Regions from separate parts of the Homo sapiens genome. Here regions 2, 3, 4, 5, 6 and 7 are each linked to region 1. The links are contacts of gene promoters, found by promoter capture Hi-C in blood cells and fetal thymus (Javierre and others, 2016). All regions are on one chromosome and are shown on one strand. The core of a region is centred on a gene start or on the middle of the fragment in contact, and the rest is flanking DNA. Distances in the headings are between cores, read along the strand shown.

Region 1 (3,319 bases), core at 260-2,759:
CTCATGAGGCTTTCCCTCACTGCATCCTCTACCTCTCTCATGAGGCTTTCCCTCACTGCATCCTGTACCCTCACAGCCCTTAACACACCACTCAACAAATACGCATTTGCATCTAACCAAATGTGACCCTGTGTCCATATTTATGTTTCTGTATATTAATGCATTCTTGTTTCCCCTGCCAGGCTCCATTAGTCTGGTTAGCTTTTGCCCAGGTATCAGGAAATGAGGGGATGGGGAGAGGCTCAGAATCCAAACTTGACAGAGTAGCTGTCCACCACTAGGTGATGGTGGGGTCAGGCATCTCCTTAGGCTGGCTGTGCTTCTGTTTTCTTTTCAATGGAGATACCGGCTTTCTTGGAAACACATGTGATGGTGGGCTAGCCGTAGAAGCACTACTATAATAACGATGTGATCTTTGTCATTTCACTTCTTCAGACCTCATTAGTCCTACATATAAAAAGAGGAAGTTAAACTAGCTCAAATGTACTGAGCAGAAGGAATGGAGACTGTGCAGCTGAGGGAGCGGGGCCTGAAAAATAAGTGTGGGTTGTGTCGCCACACACCGGGACTCCTGGGATCCCGACCTCTTTTAGCGGTCAAAAGAGGGCAAACTAGTTGCCTAACAATATTTAGAGCTATTTCTCTCTTTTCACTCTCATTCTACGAGTGTACACCGGAGTTTCTAGCAACTACATGGTATGTGAAGTCATCCCTCTAATGATAACCTGTAATGAGGTTACTACTGTGATTTTTAATGAATACATTTTAAAATGTTTTAATTTCTTCAAAAGCAAACATTAATCTCTACATATGTGTGTATACATATACAGGAAATGTATGTATATATGAATATACATATATTCATTGTATATGTGTATATATATTCATACATAATATGTGTGTGTGTATATATATATATATTTACACATTTCCTACATAAATAAAAGTTCTTTAAGGTCCTAATAATTTTTAAGTGAAAAGGAGTCCTGGGACCAAAAAGTTTTGAGAATCACTGAACCAGATTTCTAGATCTTTAAGATCATTTATTCACTCAACAAATAATTGTGCCTCCTGTGGCCAGGCATTTTGCAGATACGGAGGATAATGTGGTGATAGCAACATGTTTCCTGCTCTGATAGAGTTTTACATTTGGGAGGGAAGAGACAAACGAATAAATTAACAAGATAATTTCTGAGAGCAGTAGGTTTAATGAAGCCGTAAAGCAGGACACATATCCCTGCACAATCTGTGCGCCTGCTCAGACGTAACACCCCGCAGCGCAGCAGGCAGATTCAGCGGCGTCGCCCCATAAGGGCCCGAGCCCTCTCAGTTGGCCTAGGACGGCGAGGGCGGGGCCTGCCCGCCCCCCTGGCGCTGGCGTCAGGTGACGTCACTGTGCCGCGCCAGCCAATCGTGGGCAGCCGGGGTCTAGGCACCACGGTGGCTGGCGGCCTGCGGGCGGCGCTGTGGCCCGTCGGGCGGCTCCACAGAGCCGCCCTAGCCTTCCGCCTTCCCCAAGCCAACGTCTCCGCCGTCGGCTCCGCGGCGCCGCCATGGCCGACGTGGAAGACGGAGAGGAAACCTGCGCCCTGGCCTCTCACTCCGGGAGCTCAGGCTCCAAGTCGGGAGGCGACAAGATGTTCTCCCTCAAGAAGTGGAACGCGGTGGCCATGTGGAGCTGGGACGTGGAGTGCGATACGTGCGCCATCTGCAGGGTCCAGGTGATGGGTAAGCGCTGCACGCGAGTCCAGGGCCGCCCTGCGGCCTCCGGGAGCCGACCTCGGGGTTGGGAAGGGACGGGCGTCCGTCAGAAGCCTCGGAAAGTGCCCTGCCTGGGAGAGTGGGTGGAGGTCGCCCTGCCCCGGCGCCGGAGGAACGCGGAGCCACGCTCCTGCTGCGGCTCCTGAGGGCTGCGGCCGCCGCCTGGGGCTGCGGGGTTGTGCAACAGGCGCCCTGCGCCGGGTGGTTGGTGTTCTAGGGAGAGAGACGGGCAATAAACGGAGTTAAACAAGGTAATTTCAGGTAGTGATGGGTGTGACCAAGAAAGTAAAACCGGGTGATTGTTGGGAACTAGCAGGAAACACTTCGGTTTGTGTGTCCAGCCCCAGCCCCACCTCTAAAAGCTCAACACAAGGTGGTCAGGGTAAAGGCCGTGATTCAGCAGTGAACTTTAATAGTCTTGGTCACCACCAAAGTGATGCTCCAGAGTCATCTTCCACAAAACGACACCCTTAGTTCTCCTCGAGGGACGCAGGAAAGTGTTCATAGCCATTGCATTTCCGGATTAGCTTACCGCCGCTCTTCGAATGGCTTTTAAATCTGGATTGATTTAAGACGGGTCAGATAGCACTAGCGTGGCTTGAAGGGAACAGTGTGGTTCAAGAATATCTAAGTTTCATGGAAGCTGAAGAATTGTAAGCCCTTTTTTCAGAAACGTAAAACTTCACCTCCATCACACCCCCCTCTCCATATTGGATGCCATTTCCTGGAGAAGATACTGTGCTGCTCTGAGTCATGCCTTTGTGGAGAACCCTCTTACAAATATGTCTTCTTTCTGTGATATTTTGAGTTAAAATATTAGACCAAGTGAAACTTTTCAGAACAGCTTAATCTTGTTATATTTTATATGGTTCTAAGAACTCAGACCACTTTGAAAAGCAGGTGCTATTTAAATGCAAGTTGTATTTTCAGATAGGGCATTTAAAATTACTATGAGACCCTCTTCAGTGGAATTCTTTATTGAGGGTAGTTAAAGAAAACGGACATTTCTATCGTTTGAAAACTGTGACTTGTCTTGAAAAATGAGAGAATTGGAGAACATACAGAGAATTGCTCACCTTAAGGGGGGTGAGACTGTAAACATACCAGAATCAAGAGATTTCGCAGTTTATGCTCTTTTGTCTTTTATTCCTAAGGGCTTGTTTCAAAGAGGATTTACAACAATTGGATTCAGATATTTTTATCTTTCTCTTTTGAAAGACCTTGATATTAGACATGACCCACTTATTTTACATGGATCACTTGAGCCCAGGAGTTTGAGACCAGCCTAGGCAACATCGCAGGACCCTGTCTGTACAATTAAAAATTAAAATAAAAAGCTGACCAGGCATGGTGGCCTCCAGCTACTCTGGAGGCTGAGGTGGGAGGATCCCTTGAGCCCAGGAGGTCGAGGCTACAGTGAGCCTTGTTCCTGCCACTGCCACTGCCACTATACTCCAGCTTGGGTGACAGAATGAGACCCTGTCTCAGCAACAAACAAACAAAACATATGAGGCTTTAAAAGTATCTAGTTTATTTGCCAGCAATACAGCTGCCCCTA
Region 2 (3,319 bases), core at 478-2,977, 510 kb before region 1:
ACCGGAGGGTAGGGGGAAATATGGCTAACATATCTGAGCCAAGTGTGTGGATTTGAGAGCCATCAATCAAGGAGAGAAAGCAGAAGTCAAGGGATGAGATCCTCCCAAAGGTGCACCTCAAAGGTATATAGTAGCAAATTCGAATCCGTATCTATTTTGCCTGAGGCTAGTTGTGCTAGGACACACAGGGTTGCTGTAGACCTCGAGCTGACAGCAAAGACCTCTCTGATAATCGCTGTTGGTCGTTTCATCTCCCACAGAGAAATCTGGTGGAAATCTCCACCAGCTGGAACCTAACATTTGCAATAAATGACCCACAAATACTGATCAAACCAAATACAACCGTTCGCCTATCAGATGTCTAACGGGGCGTTACAGGCAGCCCTCAAGTGCTCTGAGGATCTTCAGCAGCGGCTCCAAGGAAGCCGCGGGCCGGGAGCAGGTGGGAAGGGCGACTGCGCGGGGCCACGACCTCCCCGGGTCTCTGCAGACCGTTGGAGACGGAGCAGCAGCGAGGACTAGAGCAACACAAGGCCGGATGTGTTCTGAGCCGGAAGAGGAGTGTGGGATAGGCCGAAAGGGGTGGGGGGTGGGGGGTGACAGTTTGGGTCTACGTGGCAGCAGGCGCACCCCAGACGCGCGCGCCCACCCGGCGATAGCATCAGCGGCGCCAGGGCAGGCACATGGCCCCAAAGCACCCACACTAGGGCCCGGGCCGGCCAGGGCTGTGTTCCTGGGCCTTGGCGCGCCTCCGCGCAGTCCCTGATCGCAGGTCAGGAGTTGTGAGGCACGCGAGAGCCCTGCGCGTCTGTGGTCGTGGTCCCTGCGCGCTCGGCTTGTCCGTGCCCGTGGCTTTGCACGCCGAGGGCTCTGCAGACTGACCAGTCTCTCCGGGCTGTGCTGGGCCTCCCAGAGGCAGTGTCCTCTCAGCAACCCCGCGCGGTCGCCCCCGCCCAGCCGCACCGCAACACCGCCTCCGGGGCGGAGCTCCAGGGCTCCTGGTGCAGGGCCGGCCGAACTGAGACGGGGCGCGGCGGGGTCGGCAGGGGGCGCTGCCGGGCCCCGCGAGCTCCCCGGTGGCGGGTGCGCGCCGCCCTCGCCTCCCCTCGCGCCGGGAGGAGCTGGCGGCGAGCGCCGAGCCGGGCGCGCAGCGACGGAGCTGGGGCCGGCCTGGGACCATGGGCGGTGAGTGCGGCGCGGGCCTGGGCCGGGGCGGTTGCCGTTGGGGCCGAGCAGCGCAGAGGTTCTAGGCGGGTGGGCGTCCAGGGTCCGAGGTTGGGAGACTGAGGGGGTCCCCCTAACTCGCCAGTGGGAGAGGGGCGGGAAGGCTGGGGGCGCTTCGAAGCGTCGGGTCCGAATCCCGCGACTAAGCCTCCTCCTTTATCCCCGCGCTCGCCCCTGAGCCTAGGACTTGCGCCCTCTTTCCTGCCACTCCCCCCGTGCGCCCGGTGTCCCAGCCCCGGCGCCCGCCCCATAGCCCCCTTCTCCCAGAGCTGGCGCCGTCTCACGCCCGCTGCGAACCCCCGGCTCTGTCTCCAAGCCCTCGCCCCCCGCAGCCCCGCACTCTCCCGCGGAGCCCGCCTCCACCTCGCCCCCGCCCTTCCAGCCCTCTCCCGCACGGCCCCCGCACTCCCGCCGCTGGATTCCAGCCGAGATTCAAGCTCCCGGGATCCCCCTTCCCGGGCGGTCCTGAGCCGGCTAGTCTCCAGGTAAGGAGGCGGCCGCAACTTCGCGGCCTTTCCCGGAGACGGGGCTGGCTCCTCTTGGCAGCCACCTGCAGCCTGACGCCTCCGGGAGTCCCGGGCCTGGCCACGGGGCCGCCCGAGCGCAGGTTAACATTCCTGGATGCGCAGGTTAGGACCGTGTGGTGTAGACCCACGACGTTGCTTTTGCTGGTGAACTTGCCTATGTCCTGATCTTTTAAATAAGCTGGGTTTGTCACACACACACACACAGAGAGAGAGAGAATGGATTTGCTTAGGGTAGGTTGCCTGCTTTGCAGCCGCAGCTGCCTTTTAAATTGTACCTGTGGATGGTAAAGGATTCACGGTGCAGGACGTGGAGCCATATTTTCCCGCTTCGGCTGTGAGTTCAGCGATTGCGAGGGGGCTCTGTAGTGAGTGAGGTTATCACCGCCTGGCTAGCCAGTGTCTTTGTGGAAAGGCAAGGATCCTTTGTAAGCATTCAACAAGTAAAATCAGGAGAGATGGGGAATCAGATCGAGCTGTGAATGGGGAAGTGTAGGGGGGTGGATGGGGGATCGGAGAGTGCTCCACAAATGGAGCCGTTTGTTGATATTTGCAGAAGGCCCGTGGGTGTGAAGCTGGCAGTGCGGAGCCCACCCTTTCAAACGGGATGCGACTGCGGTCGGGCTTGGCAGTAACTTACCCTCCTCAGAGGTGTTGGTGCCCAATCGGGACATCTGTGGGAAGGGGATTTATAGCAGATGGATCAAAAGGCCTCGGGCGCGGTGGCTCACGCCTGTAATCCCAGCACTTTGGGAGGCCGAGGCGGGCGGATCACCAGAGGTCGGGAGTTCGAGACTAGCCTGACCAACATAAAAACCCCGTCTCTACTAAAAATACAAAATTAGCCAGGCGTGGTGGTGCATACCTGTAATCCCAGCTACTCAGGAGGCTGAGACAGGAGAATCGCTTGCACCTGGGAGGCAGAGGTTGCAGTGAGCTGAGATTGCGCCATTGCACTCCAGCTTGGGCAATAAGAGCAAAACCCTGTCAAAAAAAAAAAAAAAAAAAAAACCCTCGTGGTCCCTGGAGAGAGGTGAAGATGCACGGGACAGCCTGAAAGCCAGTGTATGAATCTGCCCCATCCCTTCTCCTGGCTTTCATTAAGTCTTGGATTAAATTAATTGCTTATCTCAGAGAAAGGATGTGTAGGGGGAACTTCTCTGTTAGGGATTGGCTCCTGGCCAGCCCATCCTCACTGATGCCTTGGGAGGCTGCGTTTGGGCACCAGGAACAGCGTGGGCCACCTGGCCTTTGGAGCACAGCACTCCGAGTGTTTGTGGAACTGCAGTATCTGTAACTCTTTTTTCTATTGATCAGCTTGAATAGTTAGCTCAATATTACTTCACTATTGATTAGATAAGTAGCCCAAGGACATACTGGGGCTCAGTAGGGTCTCTCTGTCCAGAAATTCCCGTGGGCTTCTCCTTGGCCCTCCCTACACCGCTCTGTGATGAGTCGCTGTCAGATGCCCCACTGTGCAGGAGCATCTTCAGGGATGGGTGGAAGGAACCACCTCTGTGGCCCCAGGTCCCTGCCTGGTCCCCCCTGTCTACCACATAGGGGTACTCAGT
Region 3 (3,319 bases), core at 519-3,018, 490 kb after region 1:
GTATGAGACTCACCCAGGTTATGAAGGGTGATCTGCTTTACTCAAAGTCTACTAATTTAAATGTTAATTATTTCTAAGAAATACCTTCACAACAACACCTAGACTGGTGTTTGACCGAACAGCTGGGCATACAGTGTGTCTAACTAGCCTAGCCAAGTTCACACATAATAGTAACCATATCAGTTCCCCATTCACAACAGAGAAAACGGCTTTGTATTACCTGATGTTAATATTTAGTATATTTCTCAAAGTGATATTTCTTGGCTTCTTGAAACCTGACACTTCCTTAATGATCCTTTTTATAAATTCAAATAAATTATATTGAGTATTATCAAATCATAGAATTTGAAAACAGGGGCCTTAGAAACCACTTAATCTAGTGTTTCTCAAATTGTTTTCAGATCTTGAACAACTTTGAGGCCATAATGAACACTATCTTCCCAAGAAGATGCTTATACACACAAAATTTTGCACATAACTTCAGGTGCTGGGTGTTGGGTAAAGCAAACATAAAGATCTCAGATAAAAATCAAGATCTTATTTCACTGTTGAGTAGGAGAGGCCTGGGAGAACAAAGAGATACCTGTTTCTCCCACTTGCTTTGTTCTCTGTCAGCACCTCTAACCCTGCTCTTCTCTAAGGGAAAGGAGTATATGGGCAACAAGGCACAGGGCTCAGAGGCTTCTAAGGCCTTTGATAGCTGGTCAGTCATTCTTTTTTCTTAATTTTTAAAAAATTTTATGGATACATAGTAGGTGTATATATTTTTGGGTTACATGAGATATTTTGATACAGGCATGATAATCACATCAAGGTAAATAGGGTATCTTTTATGTCAAGCATTTATCCTTTGTGTTGCAAACAATCAAATTATACTCTTATTTTTAATGTACAACTAAATTGACTGTATCAAAAAATAGTCGATGTTGGTGTGAATGTGGTGAAAGGGGAACACAGACTGCTGTTGGGAATGTAAATTAGTACAGCCTCTATGAAAAACAGTGTGGAGATTCCTTAAAAGAGCTAAAAGTAGATCTACCATTTGATCCAGGATTCCCATTACTGGGTATCTACCCAAAAGAAAATAAGTCATTATATGAAAAATACACCTACACAAATATATTTATTATGGCACAATTCACAATTGCAAAGATATGGAACCAACCTAAGTGCCCATCAACTAATGGGTGAATAAAGAAAATATGGTATATATATATACACACACTATGGAATACTACTCAACCATAAAAAGGAATCAAATAATGTCTTACAGCAACTTGGATGGAGCTGGAGCCCATTATTCTAAGTGAATTAACCCAGGAATGGAAAACCAAAGAAGTAGGAGCTAAGTACACAAAGGTACACAAAGTCATATAACGGACTTTGGAGACCCAGAAATGGGAGGGTGGGACGGGGGTGTGTGATAAGAAGCTACCTACTGGGTACAATGTACACTACTCAGGTGACTGGTACACTAAAATGTCAGAATTCACCACTATATAATTCATCCATGTAACCCAAAACCACTTGTACCCCAAAAGCTATTGAAATAAAAAAATGTGATTTTTAACTATAGACACCCTGTCGTGCTATCAAATACTAGATCTTATTACTCCTTCCATTTTTTATACCTATTAGCTATCCTCACTTCCCCCGGCCCTACCCCTCACCCCTGTCCACTACCCTTCCCAGCCCCTGGTAACCATCCTTCTACTCTCTATCTCCATGAGTTCAATTATTTTAATTTGTAGCTCCCACAAATAACTGAGAACATGTGAACTTTGTCTTTCTGTGCCTGGCTTATTTCACCTAACATAATGACCTCCATTTCCATCCAAGTTGTTGTAAATGACAAGATCTCATTTTTTTAATGGCTGAATAGTACTCCATTATGTGTAATACCATATTTTCTTTATCCATTTCATCTGTTGATGGACAGTTAGGTTGCTTCCAAATGTTGGTTATTGTGAATAGTGCTGCAATAAACATGGGAATGCAGATAGCTCTTCGATGTACTGATTTCCTTTCTTTGGGGTAGTCCATTGTTATTGATTCAGAGGCCACTGCTGCTGTGTGCTGCATTACCTGGTGGCCTTATCTTTCATCTGACCCAGCTGCTACATCTTAGATTCTGGGCTGGACTGCTCTCCCAGGCTGCTTCTCCACCACTGCCACTTCTTACACGTTACCTTCTTAAGCAGGCCCAGGATTACAAATCCTTGTACCAGCCTCCCACACTCTCAAGAAATTTGATTGCAGCTCCTCAGGGCTCGATCAGAAATCGTGTAAAGGTCATCATTCCCTGTCACACCCCAAAGGGAAATGAATGGTGCCTCAGGACTGATCCCAGTGACCTCAATGCCCTCCTTCCTCCAAAGAAACTAGTCAGTGTCCCTTCCTCCTAGGGTGACCAACAATCCCAGTTTTCCCTTGACTGAGGAATCTCTTGGAACACAGGACTTTGTTAAAATCAGGAGTTGGTAGGGCAAGCTGGAACAGTTGGTCATCCTACTCCTTTCAGAAGCTCCAAGTGCTCCTACCAATGTTTTAGGGCCTAATCATCATCCCAACCTCCTCTTCACTAGTCTTCCTAGAGGCTCTTGGGTTCTGCAAGTAACTTCCTTTGGGGACTCTGGCTACATCATGTTTTGGTGTCAGTTGCTGGTTTTAGACAGTGAACTCCTTCAGAGCAGGGATGGGGCCTTAGTCTTTTTTCCTCAAGGCACAGAAAGTATTCAGTGACTTGGCCGAGCGCGGTGGCTCACCCCTGTAATCCCAGCAGTTTGGGAGGCCAAGGCAGGTGGATCACTTGAGGCCAGGAGTTCAAGACCAGCCTGCCCAACATGGCAAGACCCCATCTCTACTAAATATACAAAAATTAGCTGGGCATGGTGGCCCATGCCTATAATCCCAGCTACGTGGGAGGCTGAGGCATGAGAATCACTTGAACCCGGGAGGCAGAGGTTGCAGTGAGCCAAGATCGCACCACTGCACTCCAGCCTGGGCAATAGAGCGAGACTGTCAGAAAGAAAGAAAGAGAGAAAGAGAGAGAGAGGAAGAAAGGAAGCAGGGAAGGAAGGAAGGAAGGAGAAAAGAAGGGAAGGAAGGAAGAAAGAAAGGAGAAGAGAAGAGAGAGGAAGGAGAGAGAAAGAAAGGAAGAAAAGAAAAGGAAGGGGAAGGAAGGAAGGAAGGAAAAGTATTCAATGACTGAATAAACAAACAAATATGTACAAGTCCCTACCAGACCTCATCTTCTGCCTGACTTGGCCACAAGACATAGAGGGCACTGGGCCCCTCCTAATCTCTGCACTATGCTGGG
Region 4 (3,319 bases), core at 485-2,984, 470 kb after region 1:
CTTATCTCTGTATACTGTACTTCTACATACAAATGTACTGTACTTCTACATACAAATGTTATGTTAAAGAATTACTTCATCCCCATGTGACCATCTCACCTCATAATCAAATGACCCTAAATCTCTCACTAACCTACCCCCGCCCTCACTAAACTTAATAATAAATGCTGGTATATCCAGTGCATTGTTGGCACCGCAGGACCAGAAGGCGGTGACCCCCCTGGACCCAGCTTTCACTATCTTGTTTGTGTCTATTATTTCTCAACCTGCTGATCCACCTAGGAACAAAGAGAGAGCCCCGTTGTATTGCGGGCTGCTGGCCAGATCACGCAATATTCACTCTGTTGATAGGGTCCTGTTTTTCACCTTTATTAATGGAAATCGCAACATTTACCTAGATCATGAGCATGTTACTTCTTTTCGCTTTAGAGATCCAAATGGTCACCATTATCATGAGTACAAATCAGAGGAGTGATTTCCTATTGTTTTAGTCCTCAATCTTGGATGAAATTACAAATCAAACCTACCAAGATGCACACCTTCCACGTTACATGCTGCAGGTGGTTTTCTGAAGCCTAACTGCATATTAGATATCAATGACTAAATTTTTTCAGACATTTTTTAAATGCAAATTGCACATTATGTCAAATTAATTTTAACATAGCTTACTTATTATTTATAATTAAATTTAGGGTAATTTTTCTACTTTGGAGAGTTCCAATAGTTAAGAAAATTGAAAAATTAGTCATCATAAACAAATGAAAAAATAAATGTCCTTTGATATATAAAGTCCAATTTATCTATTTTTTATTTTGTTAACTGCTTTTGATGTCATTTAAGGAATCACTGCCAAATCCAAAGTCATGATGATTTTCTCCTGTTTTCTTCTAAGAGTTTTTAGTTTATAGTTTAAGCTTTTAAATGTAGGTCTTTGATGCATTTTGGGATTCATTTTTGTATATGGTATTAGGTAAGGGTCCAATTTAATTCTTTTGCATGTGAATGTTCAGTTTTCCCAGCACCATCTGTTGAAAAAACTATTCTTGTTCTGCTGGCTGGTCTTAGCACCTTTGTCAAAGATCAGATTGTGTTTGATAAAGATAAAATCTATTGATATATAATTCTTCAGAGCCATTCTACAACAGCACATACTTATACACTTAAATCTGATGTTCAATCACTGGTTTCAGCAAAAATTTATAAGCCAATTTGTACCAGGAGTTGGGTACACAGCTATGAACAGAGACACACAGCACTTTTGCCCTGATGACTGTACTTTCTACCAGGGAATGTAAACAAATAATCAATTACTCAGTTGCTCACTTACAGCTGGAATACGCCCTATAAAGGATAAATAGAGGCCGGGCGTGGTGGCTCACGCCTGTAATCCCAGCACTTTAGGAGGCCGAGGAAGGCGGATCACGAGGTCAGGAAATCGAGACCATCCTGGCTAACATGGTGAAACCCCGTCTCTACTAAAAATACAAAAAATTAGCCGAGCGCGGTGGCGGGCACCTGTAGTCCCAGCTCCTCGGGAGGCTGAGGCAGGAGAATGGCGTGAACTCGGGAGGCAGAGCTTGCAGTGAGCCGAGATAGCACCACTGCACTCCAGCCTGGGCAAAAGAGTGAGACTCCGCCTCAAAAAAAAAAAAATGGATAAATAGAGGTGCCATGAGAGTATTTAACAGATGGCCCCTGTGTGGTGGTCAGTGAAGGCTTCAGAAATGGCAATGGATCTCAGCTCTGAAGGATAAGAAGGAATCAGAAGTATGAACATTCCCAACAAAATGTGCTATATGTTCAAATGTCCTAGAGCAAGATAAAGCGTGTCTTAGAGGAACTGAATGGCTAGTGTGGCTGAAAAGCAGTGAGGGGGAGAGACAAAATCACAAGATGAAAGTGGCATCATTAATTTATAACATAGAACAAGACAATCTAGAATACTGATTTTTCAAGTAATAGCATACATTCCAATATTCACTCAGCACTGACCTGGGTTTATTTTATCTCTATCAACAAAAAAAGGAAAAATGAAGGAAAAGTATAAATGGCAATGTTGTAAATTAATTGTCTTAAACCCTTCTAACACTTTACATCATTCTGTGGCTCTTAATATATTTTAAGTCATAAGTATTTGGTAAGACTCATTAATGTAAGTATCAAATACTACAATAAAAATCTATTTTGTGCAATGGGAATATAGAGTAATTTGTGTACCTATATAATGAGATTGTAAATTAGGGCTGGTATTCTTATTCATCTGTATACGCAGTGCAGCCCCCAGCACGGTGCATTACTCCCTGTGAGCCCTCAAACAGTTATGAGTGAATCCAGGCTCCCATGACTCACAGTTTGTGTTGCTAATTGGCACACACCCTGATCTGAAGTTAGCTGGCAGAAATCTCCCAAGAGACATTGACTAAAGAAACAAAACAGCTCGTGATTTTTTTTTTTTAGAACAAAAGGAATTTAAAAGAACCAAAATGGAAGTGTTATCAGTTAGAGTTATTTTAGAAAGCAGGCTAAACACACCACTTTTTGAATATATTGGAAAAAAAGCTTAACCTGAAGAACATGAAGAAAGCTCAAAGACTGAAAAAAGTTCGTAAGTTTCCTGGTCCCTAACAGGGGGATGGGGGAGAGATAGGGAGAAAAACAAAAAGAAAGTTCAAAGTTTTAGACCTCCTGACAGCAACTGTGAGGAAAATAATGTTTCTATGGCCATGAGGACAGAAATGCACCATGGATGCAGGAGGAAAAAAACAACAAGCTGGGAGGAGGAGCTGCTGGCCAGGACTGGAACGAACAATAGGTTTTTCCACAGGATCTAGTCTGTCTCTCCTTTTCTCTCACAAATGAACAATTAGTGCTTCTGGCTGGCCCTGTGCTGTGCCCATCTGTGTTGTGTCCCGGCTGTTTGCTAGGGCTCTTGTGGAATCTGTCAGCATCATACACCACATTGGCTCCCTGGGGCCCAATGAGCAGAATAGGCTCCGCTCCATTATTTTAATGTAAAAGAAGCACAAAGGCTTTCAGTCTTTCTTCAAAAAATATCCACTATTTCAGTTTCTACAAGCAAAGAATGTTCCCAAAACTCATGAAAGAATACAAACATTTCAAAAAAGAAAAAAGGACAGCCAAGATAAAAAACTCACAATGAATTGCTTTAGGAAGAAGTCTTATCCCTCTACAACACCACCACCACCAGTAAGGAAAGTGAACTGTCTTGAAATCTAACTCTTCTATTCCTTCTAATGGTGATGTATAGTCCTAGCATCAGACAAAAACTCTGCTTCCTAATATTCCGACCTTACTGTCA
Region 5 (3,319 bases), core at 358-2,857, 410 kb after region 1:
AAAGGAAGCTGCAATATAGATCAATTAAACTATTTTTATATCTACTTTTAAAGAGAGACAGGGACATGATTATGCCATATAGAAAATAGATGAATATATATTCACGAGCTGAAAAAAAAAACAGGTAAATTATTTATTAGGTGAAGATAAATTCAAGCCATGAAGAGAAAACACATGGCCCAGAAAAAAAAAAAAGTAGGTTGTGCAAGTCAAATGAAAAGACACAAAACTCAGATCTCGGGGAGACAGGGGAAGGAGAAGGCTGAGCTAAAAGAGAGCCTTACTGAAAGAAAGCAAATAAGTGAGAGGGAGTCTGTGCCCTCTGAGATGGAATGAGGAAAAGATAAAAGTATTCATGGGCTCAAAGGCAGCTTCAGCAGTGAATATGGAAAAGGAATGAGCCCGTTCACTGTCTCAACACTAAAAGGGAAATAATATAGGGTCTTTTTCTAAACCAGCATCCATGGCAGTCAATAATAAAAGTGCCTAACTAATGCAAGGCATTTAATACGTGGAGGATTTTCTTACGATTGCATTCCATACATTAGTCCATTCACTCCCCGAAACACACCGAATAGGTGGATGCATCTAATTTACAGATGAAGAAACCGAGATCACACAATGGGAGATAGCACAGGCTGGTAAGAGAGACTGGGGCGCTCATCCACTTCGTTGTACTGTCTCTCAGCGAGATCCTAGGAAAACCCTTACACTTCTTTGTGAAGACAGACCTTGGCTTTCCAGATTTTCTCAAAGGAGTCTGGGCCCAAAAAGCGATCCTCTACTTCAGAGAAAAGTTCCTTTATGGGGCATATGAGGTTCTTCCAAGCACACAAAGCTTAGAAACTCTTTAAAAACAAACAAAACACCTGGTGGACACAGAGGCCTGTGAGTCATGAAAGGAGAAGGGAAAAATCGGAAAACCAGATTTAGAAGCCATCCTTCTTTGAAGAGAACGAGAAAGTAGAAAGCAGCCCTTCCCCTCTTCCACGAGGCGTGACTCAGGGACGTTACCTCCCCCGATTTGCTCTATGCACTAAGAGGGTGACCCTCCTCTGCTTTCGACTCTGGCCCAGACACTCACGGGTTACCCGGCCAGGCCTGGAGAACCCAGGTCTAAACAGATGGGACTCGTGGGGGAACAAGGGGGCCCCTGTGCGCAGGGAGGGAAACCTACCCAGGAACGCGCCCGGCCGGGTCCAAAGGCCCTCCGCGCGCGGGCCCGCGCCCTCGCCCCAGACCTTACCGCCTTCGGCTGCAGAAGAACTGGCGGCCAAGCGAGGCTGTCGGGCCGAGCCAGGAGCGCGTCTTCGGGCGCCGCCGCTTCTGTGGCGCCCGCGCTTAGGCGGCGGCCGGGTCCCGGTGGACTCACACCCGGGGAGACGCGGCCTGCCCGGTCAAGGCCCAGGAGTTTGAGGCCCCAGAACGCCAACCGTGCGCGCGCCCTCGAGCCTGCCCAAAGATGAAGGGTCAGGGCGCGCCCCGCGGGCCGGGCAGCTGCGGCAGCGCCGCAGCCGAGATCGCTACCGATTTCGTCCGCCCTCTCCCTGCCCAGCTACAGCCCCGCTTCCCCCGCGCGAGCTTTGGCGGCGGAGCAGCACAGTGCGCGCCGATTGGCCCTCAGAATGTGCGACGCCTGGCGCCGCTCCCCACGGATTGGCCGGGCCGGCAGTGCGTGCACGGAGTAAACAAACCCCGCCCCCAGGCTTCCCTTTGAGAGTAGGGGGCCAACAGATGGAGGGGCGGGACTCGTGCACTCAGCCACCGCCCCTTGGTTCCCCCTGTGGCCTCCCTGGGAGCCCTCCGCAGGACCCGACCACCCCGCTTCCCCGCCGCCTCCAGGGACAGCTGCGGGCCTGAGGCCTAGAATTTTAGACACACTTCCTTCATCACTCCTATCTCATCCCCCCTACTCCCACCCTGCGACTTGGGTGGGAATCTCTTTTCCAACTGACCCCGAAGCCAGAAAACCCCAGCTCTCTTGGAAGGAGGGGGACTGGGGCAGTTCCATTCGGTCCCCAGGCCTTTGCGGGGTCGCCCTGGGGGAGCATCAATAAGGGACAGGGGGGCGAGTGATCGTGATTGAGGCTATGCGTGGGGCCAACTGTGGGACACCTTGAAATTATTCAGACAATGAGTTAGAGACCACTGGGAATGTGGAGGTTCTTCAATATCAAGGCAAGTTAATACCCAAACCAGGACAGGTCATTCTGTCCCGCGGAAACTGCACACACCCCAAATACCCGTACACTTGGTTCCATATGAAAAGATTTTGTTCATTCGTTCGTGCCGAAGTTAAAAACCCCGTGTGAACAGCGCATTAAAACGATTAGATCTTTCTCATTTTACTCCAGTCAAATCTTATAGATCTTCTATATGCCACTTTGTTTGTTTTTGAGACGGGGTCTTGCTCTCACCGAGGCTGGAGTGCGGTGGCAGGATCACGGCTCATTGGAGCCCTGACTTCCCAGTCTCAGGTGATCCTACCACCACAGCCTCCCGAGTAGCTGGGACTACAGGCCCGCGCCACCACACCCGGCTGTTTCGCCATGTTTCCCAGGCTGGTTTGGAACTCCTGGACTCAAGAGATCCTCCCGCCTGGGCCTCCCAAAGTGGTGGGATTACAGGCGTGAGCCACCACGCCCGGCCCCAAACACTATTCTTGATATGGGGAGACATCAGTGGACAAAATAGAGACAAAAACTCCTGCCTTCATGGAGCTTACATTCTAGCAGGATGGGAAAGATAATATGCAAAAGAATACGTAAAACAAAAACTATATTACATGCTGGTATGTGTGCTATGGGAAAAAAATATAAGCAGAGGTGTTGGAGGAATGGCTTCAGTCCTAAATAGAGTGATCTGGGAAGGTAGCACGGAGAAGGTGGTATTTAAGCAAATGCCTAAAGGAGATGAGATAGGTAAGAGAGCACTTTCAGATCTTTCTCTGGGGCAGGGTGGAGAGACAATTGTATGCATAATTGCATGTAACTAGTCCTGAGAGTCCAAGAATGTCAAATGCAGTACTCCACTGACTGATTCTAAAATGCAAAAACCCCAGTGATTACTTCACATTCTCCAGTAACAAATCAATAAAAATTTAGTTTCCACAAAAAATATAACTTTAAGAAAACTTAAAGTTATATTCAACAAATACTTTTCACTCTAGGTACTACGTATACAAAAATGAGCAAGACAGACAAAACATCCACCCTCAAGGAACTCAGTGTAGCAGAGGAAATGGATTGTAAACCACCTCAATTCAATGCGTAAATAACCATGATGGAAGTACACACACAAAGTGCTTGGGCTAATGTAG
Region 6 (3,319 bases), core at 378-2,877, 290 kb after region 1:
TCAATTCCTGAATATAAAATAATAAATTTTAAATGACTAAATTTTATTTATTCACTGATTAAATCAGATTTATGACCTCCTCTCTCCATTCCAGCTACTCTGAGTTTTGAATGAAACAACCTCAATTGTAACAGAAGAAACATCTGTTGCTTTTTTTCTTCACCAGGGCTTTCCTAACTGAAAGAAGAAAGACTCTCTGCCTGACCTCCTCTCCCTCTCCCTCTCCCTCTCCCACTCCCGCTCCCCACCCACACTAAGTTCCTTAAAACTTTTTTAAGTAAATGTATTATTTAAAATTTCACTGTATCTATTAAAAACATCATAGTTTAGAAACATTCACTTCCTTATTGAACTTCAAAGAATGACTAAATGCTATTATATATCAAAAAATAAGACGTGTCTAATAGAATATACGTTGTAACTAAAATGCAAACTTCAAGGGTATAATTGAAATGATCAATTCAATCAAGTTGTCATATATTCCGGGGTCATTAAGAATTGTTTAGGGGTAAGATTTTCTTCACAGTATCCAGATTCATATAGCATCTTGTATGCTATATTTTCTTTGCCAGTCCAAGGCTAACATAATGGCAGTCACTACCCCAAGAGGCAGACACCAAATGGTGCCACCCACACTCTCACACTGTGCCTCATAATAAACCATAAAGCAGTGGAATGCACCGGCCCCTTTATGAGCAAACAATGCCTAAGCTTCATTAGAATACAGCTGACATTTTCAAAGCACAAATACTTTTAAGAAAAATGTACTAGGGAAAAAAAGGAATGAAACAGCTATAAAAGCTGAAATATTTTTCAAGTGTCAGGTTGATTTCCAAGGATCCTTGGGAAGTATATTTTGCTGTTGGCAATTTAAAAGTTTTCGTAAGTGGAAAAAATGTTTAGTTAAGGGCAAAGCTTATTTTATTAACTACTGGGGAAAAAAATGAAAGTAAAAACTATCCTTTGAATTGCTTTCACAAGTAATAACCATGAAGTACCTTTAAAATTACTGATTTCCTCAACTGCTGCTTTAGTTCCTGAATTAAGAAAACTGAGCTCCAGAATTATTTTCACATTTTAATTAATTTATATAAGTAACTGAGTAATAAACTAATTCTTCCCCTCCCCCCCCACCCCAACCCCCATACATAACCCTGTAGTTTTTCTGTCTGCAACAAGCAAGGACGTCTTGAAATCAGCGTGCTCCTGGCTATTTATCAATTTAATATTGCTGCTGCTTAAAGAATATAAAATAAGAGCTGTAAAAACTCACCCAGCAGTGAGAAACAAACTGATCTCTCTTACCTGGTCTAAGGAAGCATGCCTCTCACTGCAGTACCAACAACATTCTACAGTCTTTGTTACCATTCAGTGGAAACTTGAGACTGTGTCAGACGTAAGCAATCGAGCTCAGAAAAGCTCAATTTAAAATACTTCTCAGTAAAACTAAAAAGATGCTCAAGAAAACTGTTTAGTTAACTGGCTTTCAAAAGACATATGAATACTGTTTACAACAAAGACATCTCAAAAGAAATTGAAAAGTGCAGGTCTTAGATGAAGGGGCTTTTCTATGTAGAACCTTGTTTTCTTATTAAATTAAAAGGATATTTTTATTTTAAAAAATGCTTAAAGTACACACTTGATCTTAGCCAAAAGGCCGAGAAGCAATAAAAATGCTTAAAGTAAAAAGGGTGAAATAACTACAAGTTAACATTTTTCTAAATATCACTTGCCTTTTAACTAACTTAAAAAATAAGATTAAACTTACTCGTGAAACCTGCATAATTTGAATTATACATATCAGAGTATCTGCTGGCTCCAAAGCAGTCACAAAGCAGGAGACTTAATGCATCTTGAAAGCAGAGCAAAAGCACCACGAGTTTCAGGGGGAAAAGAGGAGGAGAAACTCTTGAAAAACTGGTCGGGGCTTTTTGAACCTGTAATAACTGTCCAGCTCTTGTGGGAGGAAAAAAATGTCCCAGTCCTGCCCCGAGATAGGAGGCTATGCTTCAATGCCAAAATGAATGACAGGCCCATTTCTGATATCAACAAAGAGCAGCTTAGTTGTGCTTTTTTTTTTTTTCCACTTTCCCACACAGAAGTTCTAAAATTTCCAGGTTAGTCCCTTTATAGCTAGGGTTAAGTACCTTTCTCCATTTTCTCAAGAGGGAACTCAATTATGTTGTCCTGGTTTTTTTTTAAATGACTAATTAAATATACATACCTAATCATCTTACTTAGTTTTCCTAGGCAGGAAGCTGAACAAAAGATGACCTCTTAGGTTCCTTTCCAAATCTATTCTTTTCAATATCAGATAACCATATGACTGTCAATATTAATAAGCTTTTCCAGCATCCTGATGTATGGCACAAGTAGAAACAAAAAGCAAGGTAACATTAAAAACAAAGCAACTGAGATAAAATTTTCAACTAGCAAGATGTAAAGATAATTTACCAAGGTATGTGTTTGATTACAGAAATTCAAAACAAACACTCCAATCAACAACATATATTTGCTGAATACTTATTATGAGCCGAGCACTATTTTGGGCCCTGGAGATACAGTAGTGAATGCAACAGACAAAAGCCAAACAAAAAATCTCTGTCTTTCGTGAGCTTAGTTTATTTCAGTTCACTCTAAGTACAACTCTCCTAGATGACTAAGGTACTTTTCCTTCGTTGACTAGTTATCACCTATTCTGAAATATTCCCCTTGGAAAGTATGTCTTGACAACAGCTCCAGGAGACGCTGTAAAGTATTTGGTGCTCCGTTCAGTGTTGTATCACCAGTGTCTAAAACAGTGTCTGTTAGACACTCAAATACATATTGAATCAAATAGATCAGAGAGCTTCTTCTTACTCAAAATTTTCCTTTGCCAACACATATTATACTTACATGCATACAGAGATATGACAACAATAATACAATACAGGGTGTAAATTAAACTGGGTTGTAAACACGTGTTAGTATAAACAAAACTGAAAATACAACCTATATGGCCCTCTATCTTTCCAGATTCTACAATAAAATCTGTTTTCACTACTGGATGTGAGGTCAGTATAATATCTGAGTAAATAAATCACATAAAATTCTATAAAGTAAGTTTTTGTGGACAGTCAGATTTCAGAGGAGTTTTGAAAGAAAAAAGAAACTTGGAAATTACACAGAATCTGATCAGTTTGGTATATTAAAATCTTACATGTTTATATTCATTTACATTCCCACATTTGGAAACAATTTTAAACTCCCCATCCTGCTTTGCACCATTCTTGATCATCTTACCAGATGACGCTTCTTACAGAGAAAATAAGTGTACACC
Region 7 (3,319 bases), core at 567-3,066, 280 kb before region 1:
TCCCCGCCTTGCGAGTGTTGAGGGGGCGGCTGTCATCACTCTCCAAAATGCCTGGCTTCTCATCACGCTGTCTGTGTATACAAGCTCCTGACCATGCTGAAACGTTCATGCCCATCCCTACCCCAGCCCCATCCACAGACGTGATCATTTCTCAATACCTAATTCAAAGGCCCCATCAAAAGCCTCTTCCTTGCAGTGTTGTGTGAGACAGCCCCTCACGCCTCTGCTTGCCTTGACCTCCAGCCCCACCACAGCTCTCTGGATTCAGCCGTTTTCAATTCTGCCTCTGCCGTCAGCCAGCGAGCTCCTCCCGGATGTTCCCAGCATCAGCATGCTGCGGTCAAATGCAAGTCATCTATGAAGTGTGCCGATTCGCCACTCCAGATGACCAACTGCCTTGGTGTGCCTCGCACTGAAGACTCTCCCAAGTTGCAAAACATTCAGTGCTAAAACTGAGACAGTCCCAGGCAAATGAGGACGATGGGTCACCCTAACGGGGAAGAGCCTCTTCAGAAAGGAAAGGAGCATCAGCAGGCATGGTAGAAGTAGAACTCACTGGCCAATTTCAGTTTCAAACAACTAATAGGACGTTCTTTCCTGAGCAGTGAGGAAACACCTAGGCCACACAGAAATCTGGCCAGGCTGCACAAGTCTGGCATGAGAAAATGGAGGGAAGAACCTTGGGACCCAATCTCCAGAGCCCTACTAAAATCCTTCAGTGATTTCACAGTCACTCCTACTTCTCTCATTTCTCTGAAAAACCTCCTGGGAAACCAAGCTCACCATACTGCTTCCAGCTGCCCACACAAGGCATTTGCCTCTCAGAATTTTTGATAGCGTCCACCCTAAAAATCAGTGAGTACAAGTCTTCCACTACATCCTGCCCAGTGTGGAGGAAAGCTACAGGTTTTCCTGCTGAGTCCTTTTCTATGTTTATGGGTGAAAGCACCTGAATTTCCTTTAGGAAAACCCCCTAACCCTCTTATTCATCAGCCACACCTTCAGACCATATCTGAAATCAGGATCAGGTGACTGGTGGCCACCTGATGGGATTGGGAAGGAAGCATATAAGCCGGTTTCTAGCACGTGTTTTTTTAAATCTCAACACAAGAATGAGGAAACTGAGTCAAGACCTTCTCCATTGCCAGAGATAGAAACCCAGTTGTTCATGATATGGGGAGGATATAGCTGGCTTTAAGCAAAACTGAATTCAAGGGCTCTAGCAAAATGATATCTCTCTCAACCCCTCACTCTCTGTCCCTTTTCTCTCTTACTTTCCTCTGCATTAGCTTCAGTCTCAGACTGGTTCTCCCCAGTTGATAGACAAAGATATCCATGCTGAGTGAAATCAAGTTCTCCAAAACAAGTGAAAACACACTCTTCAAAAAAAAAAATAAAAAGTCTTCAAAGGGAGCAGAGATATTTCTAATGATAACCTCTCAAGAGCAGAGTCTGAATCCACATCCAGGACATCTAACATCAGAGTTGACACTCAGAATCTCTACTAATATAGGGTACGCACCTCCTTTCAGGACACATTAAAGAAAAATTTATCAAAATGACCACAAAACACTCTGCATCGAGCTAAGACTAACTGAGCCAGGCACATACTTTCATCTTTATTCAGAAGAACCTGGAAAGAAGGTCTTGTTTTCACCATTTAATCAATGCAGCAAGTGAAGGCCCAAGTCCAAGGACTCTGCTGCTCTGAGTGATGACAATCCACACAGGAATGACAGCCCCAGTTTACTGACTGGCAGTTCCTCAACCTCAGATATCAACTTACTGGTGCTCAGACTACACTCTCCACATTTCCCTTCTGCCCTCACTTTGTGTGGTTCCAGGAACACCAGCCTTCACTTCTTCCTGCTTTTACCTGGCCACTCAATGGTTTTTATGCATGAAAGCAAACATGTTAGAATAGGTGACCCAACCAGTGTGGACATGTATGAAGATCTGCCTACCTCAAGTTCCAGGAACTCGTATGATTAAGAGAAATGACTACTCTGTAATTGTAGTATAAAGAGAGATAATACATTTTTGTGTACTTGTGTATTATGTATGTATTTTAAAAGCTAATACATGTACACAGAAAAAATAATTTTCAAATACTGCAAAAGGGTACACAGAGAAAAATGGTCTCCCTCCCTCTCTGCCCCCAGGTTTCTCCCTAAAAGTATACACTGTTACCAGATCTTGGGTGTCCTTCCATAGATATCCCATGCATATCTAAGCATATATATATTTTATATATATATAATATATATATGTGTGTGTGCATTTAAACTTACAAATTTTTTCCTTTCTTTTTCTTGTTGTATATAAATGAGAGCACACTACACATGCCACTCACTACCTTATTTCATTTGTTTAACAATAGATAATGGAAAACTTTCTATGCTGGGACATATGGATCTCTTTTATTCTTTTAGTGACTGCATAGTATTCCATTGTATGAATTTGTTTAGGCTCCCTCAAATCATGGGACATTGTATGAATGTTTAACCCATTGTCTAATAATTGGCTAGCATTTGTTTCTAATCTTTTGCTTTTGTGTTTACATTTTAGACATATTTTTATAATACAGATATAAACAAAGAGAAAAAAAGTTTTCTGCTTAACTCTTATTTAACCAGAAAATATGATGAACAGAGGCCATACAATATTCTGAGGGTTCTTGGTAGTTGGAATGAAGGTAATTCCAATTCTGAGCTCTCAAGTAAAACTTTTTGGAATTCTTCTGCTGTGTATTAAATGCAAACTAAACAGAAGTTCGTGTCTTAGGGATCTTTAGTTGCTTAAGCAAAATGTGATGTTGGAAGGAAAAAAGAAACTAAGGGAGGACAGGGAAAAGCTGGAAACAGGAAGCAGAAAACTTCCCTCTCTCCACCTCTTGTCATCTCTGTGTCCCCCGTGTCACCTTTCTTCATTTCTGTCTGTGCTAATCATCAGCCTTCTCTGCCTCTCCCTGCCTGTGGATGGAAGATACTAGCCAGCCCTATAGGACCTCACAGGCAAAGGAATCCACGGCCCTCCTTCCCCACCCCCACTAAAGAGACTGGTTCTCCCATGATCTGATGAGCTCTGGTGAAAGGGACAGAGCCCTATAGTAGAAGATAGCTGCAGGGGCCCCACCCCAAGGACAAACACGGTGATCAGAGAAGGTTGGGTGGGCTGGGAATGGCCATCAAGTGCCACCACGTGGTTCCACGGGGACGAGAGCTTTGTGGACAAGGGCTGCTTAGTCAGTAACTCTGCATGAGGGACCCTCAAAGCCATCACGATGGCTTCAACTTGGCTGTCTAGCTTTCTAGCCTGG

The links. The method cuts DNA at HindIII sites, captures the fragments that hold promoters and counts their contacts. A CHiCAGO score of 5 or more calls a contact.
Region 2: a fragment that was not itself captured here is called in contact with the fragment with the promoter of RNF7 in region 1 in 1 of 17 cell types (neutrophils); the score reaches 6.7 in neutrophils.
Region 3: a contact is called between a fragment that was not itself captured here and the fragment with the promoter of RNF7 in region 1, in 1 of 17 cell types (fetal thymus). The highest score is 6.6, in fetal thymus.
Region 4: a fragment that was not itself captured here is called in contact with the fragment with the promoter of RNF7 in region 1 in 1 of 17 cell types (fetal thymus); the score reaches 7.7 in fetal thymus.
Region 5: a contact is called between the fragment with the promoter of TFDP2 here and the fragment with the promoter of RNF7 in region 1, in 4 of 17 cell types (fetal thymus, monocytes, naive B cells and 1 more). The highest score is 9.0, in fetal thymus.
Region 6: a fragment that was not itself captured here is called in contact with the fragment with the promoter of RNF7 in region 1 in 1 of 17 cell types (fetal thymus); the score reaches 7.3 in fetal thymus.
Region 7: a contact is called between a fragment that was not itself captured here and the fragment with the promoter of RNF7 in region 1, in 1 of 17 cell types (neutrophils). The highest score is 5.5, in neutrophils.

The regions. Positions count from the first base shown.
Region 1 is chr3:141,736,789-141,740,107 of GRCh38, forward strand. It overlaps RNF7 (ring finger protein 7), which reads left to right and starts at 1,510. Exons shown (of 3, transcript NM_014245.5): 1 at 1,510-1,728. The coding sequence starts at 1,554. RefSeq lists enhancers at 1,053-1,102, 1,143-1,192, 1,303-1,982, 1,543-1,782, 1,983-2,661 and silencers at 1,283-1,542, 1,803-1,982. The HindIII fragment of the contact is 15,473 bases long and covers 1-3,319 here.
Region 2 is chr3:141,230,727-141,234,045 of GRCh38, forward strand. It overlaps PXYLP1 (2-phosphoxylose phosphatase 1), which reads left to right and starts at 1,099. Exons shown (of 6, transcript NM_001037172.3): 1 at 1,099-1,185. RefSeq lists a silencer at 838-1,217. The HindIII fragment of the contact is 5,995 bases long and covers 1-3,319 here.
Region 3 is chr3:142,228,569-142,231,887 of GRCh38, forward strand. No RefSeq gene overlaps it. Among named protein-coding and RNA genes, the nearest start is that of GK5, 4.6 kb to the left of the region's middle. The HindIII fragment of the contact is 3,566 bases long and covers 1-3,319 here.
Region 4 is chr3:142,207,509-142,210,827 of GRCh38, forward strand. All of the region lies in intron 3 of GK5 (glycerol kinase 5), which reads right to left. Among named protein-coding and RNA genes, the nearest start is that of GK5, 16 kb to the right of the region's middle. The HindIII fragment of the contact is 1,645 bases long and covers 913-2,557 here.
Region 5 is chr3:142,147,937-142,151,255 of GRCh38, forward strand. It overlaps TFDP2 (transcription factor Dp-2), which reads right to left and starts at 1,608. Exons shown (of 13, transcript NM_001178139.2): 1 at 1,247-1,608. RefSeq lists silencers at 1,104-1,153, 1,384-1,453, 1,514-1,723, 1,834-1,883 and an enhancer at 1,253-1,753. The HindIII fragment of the contact is 3,426 bases long and covers 837-3,319 here.
Region 6 is chr3:142,027,274-142,030,592 of GRCh38, forward strand. The region is part of intron 3 of TFDP2 (transcription factor Dp-2); the gene reads right to left. Among named protein-coding and RNA genes, the nearest start is that of TFDP2, 120 kb to the right of the region's middle. RefSeq lists a silencer at 667-716 and enhancers at 1,103-1,604, 2,011-2,060. The HindIII fragment of the contact is 1,428 bases long and covers 914-2,341 here.
Region 7 is chr3:141,456,121-141,459,439 of GRCh38, forward strand. No RefSeq gene overlaps it. Among named protein-coding and RNA genes, the nearest start is that of RASA2, 29 kb to the right of the region's middle. RefSeq lists an enhancer at 1-101. The HindIII fragment of the contact is 9,299 bases long and covers 1-3,319 here.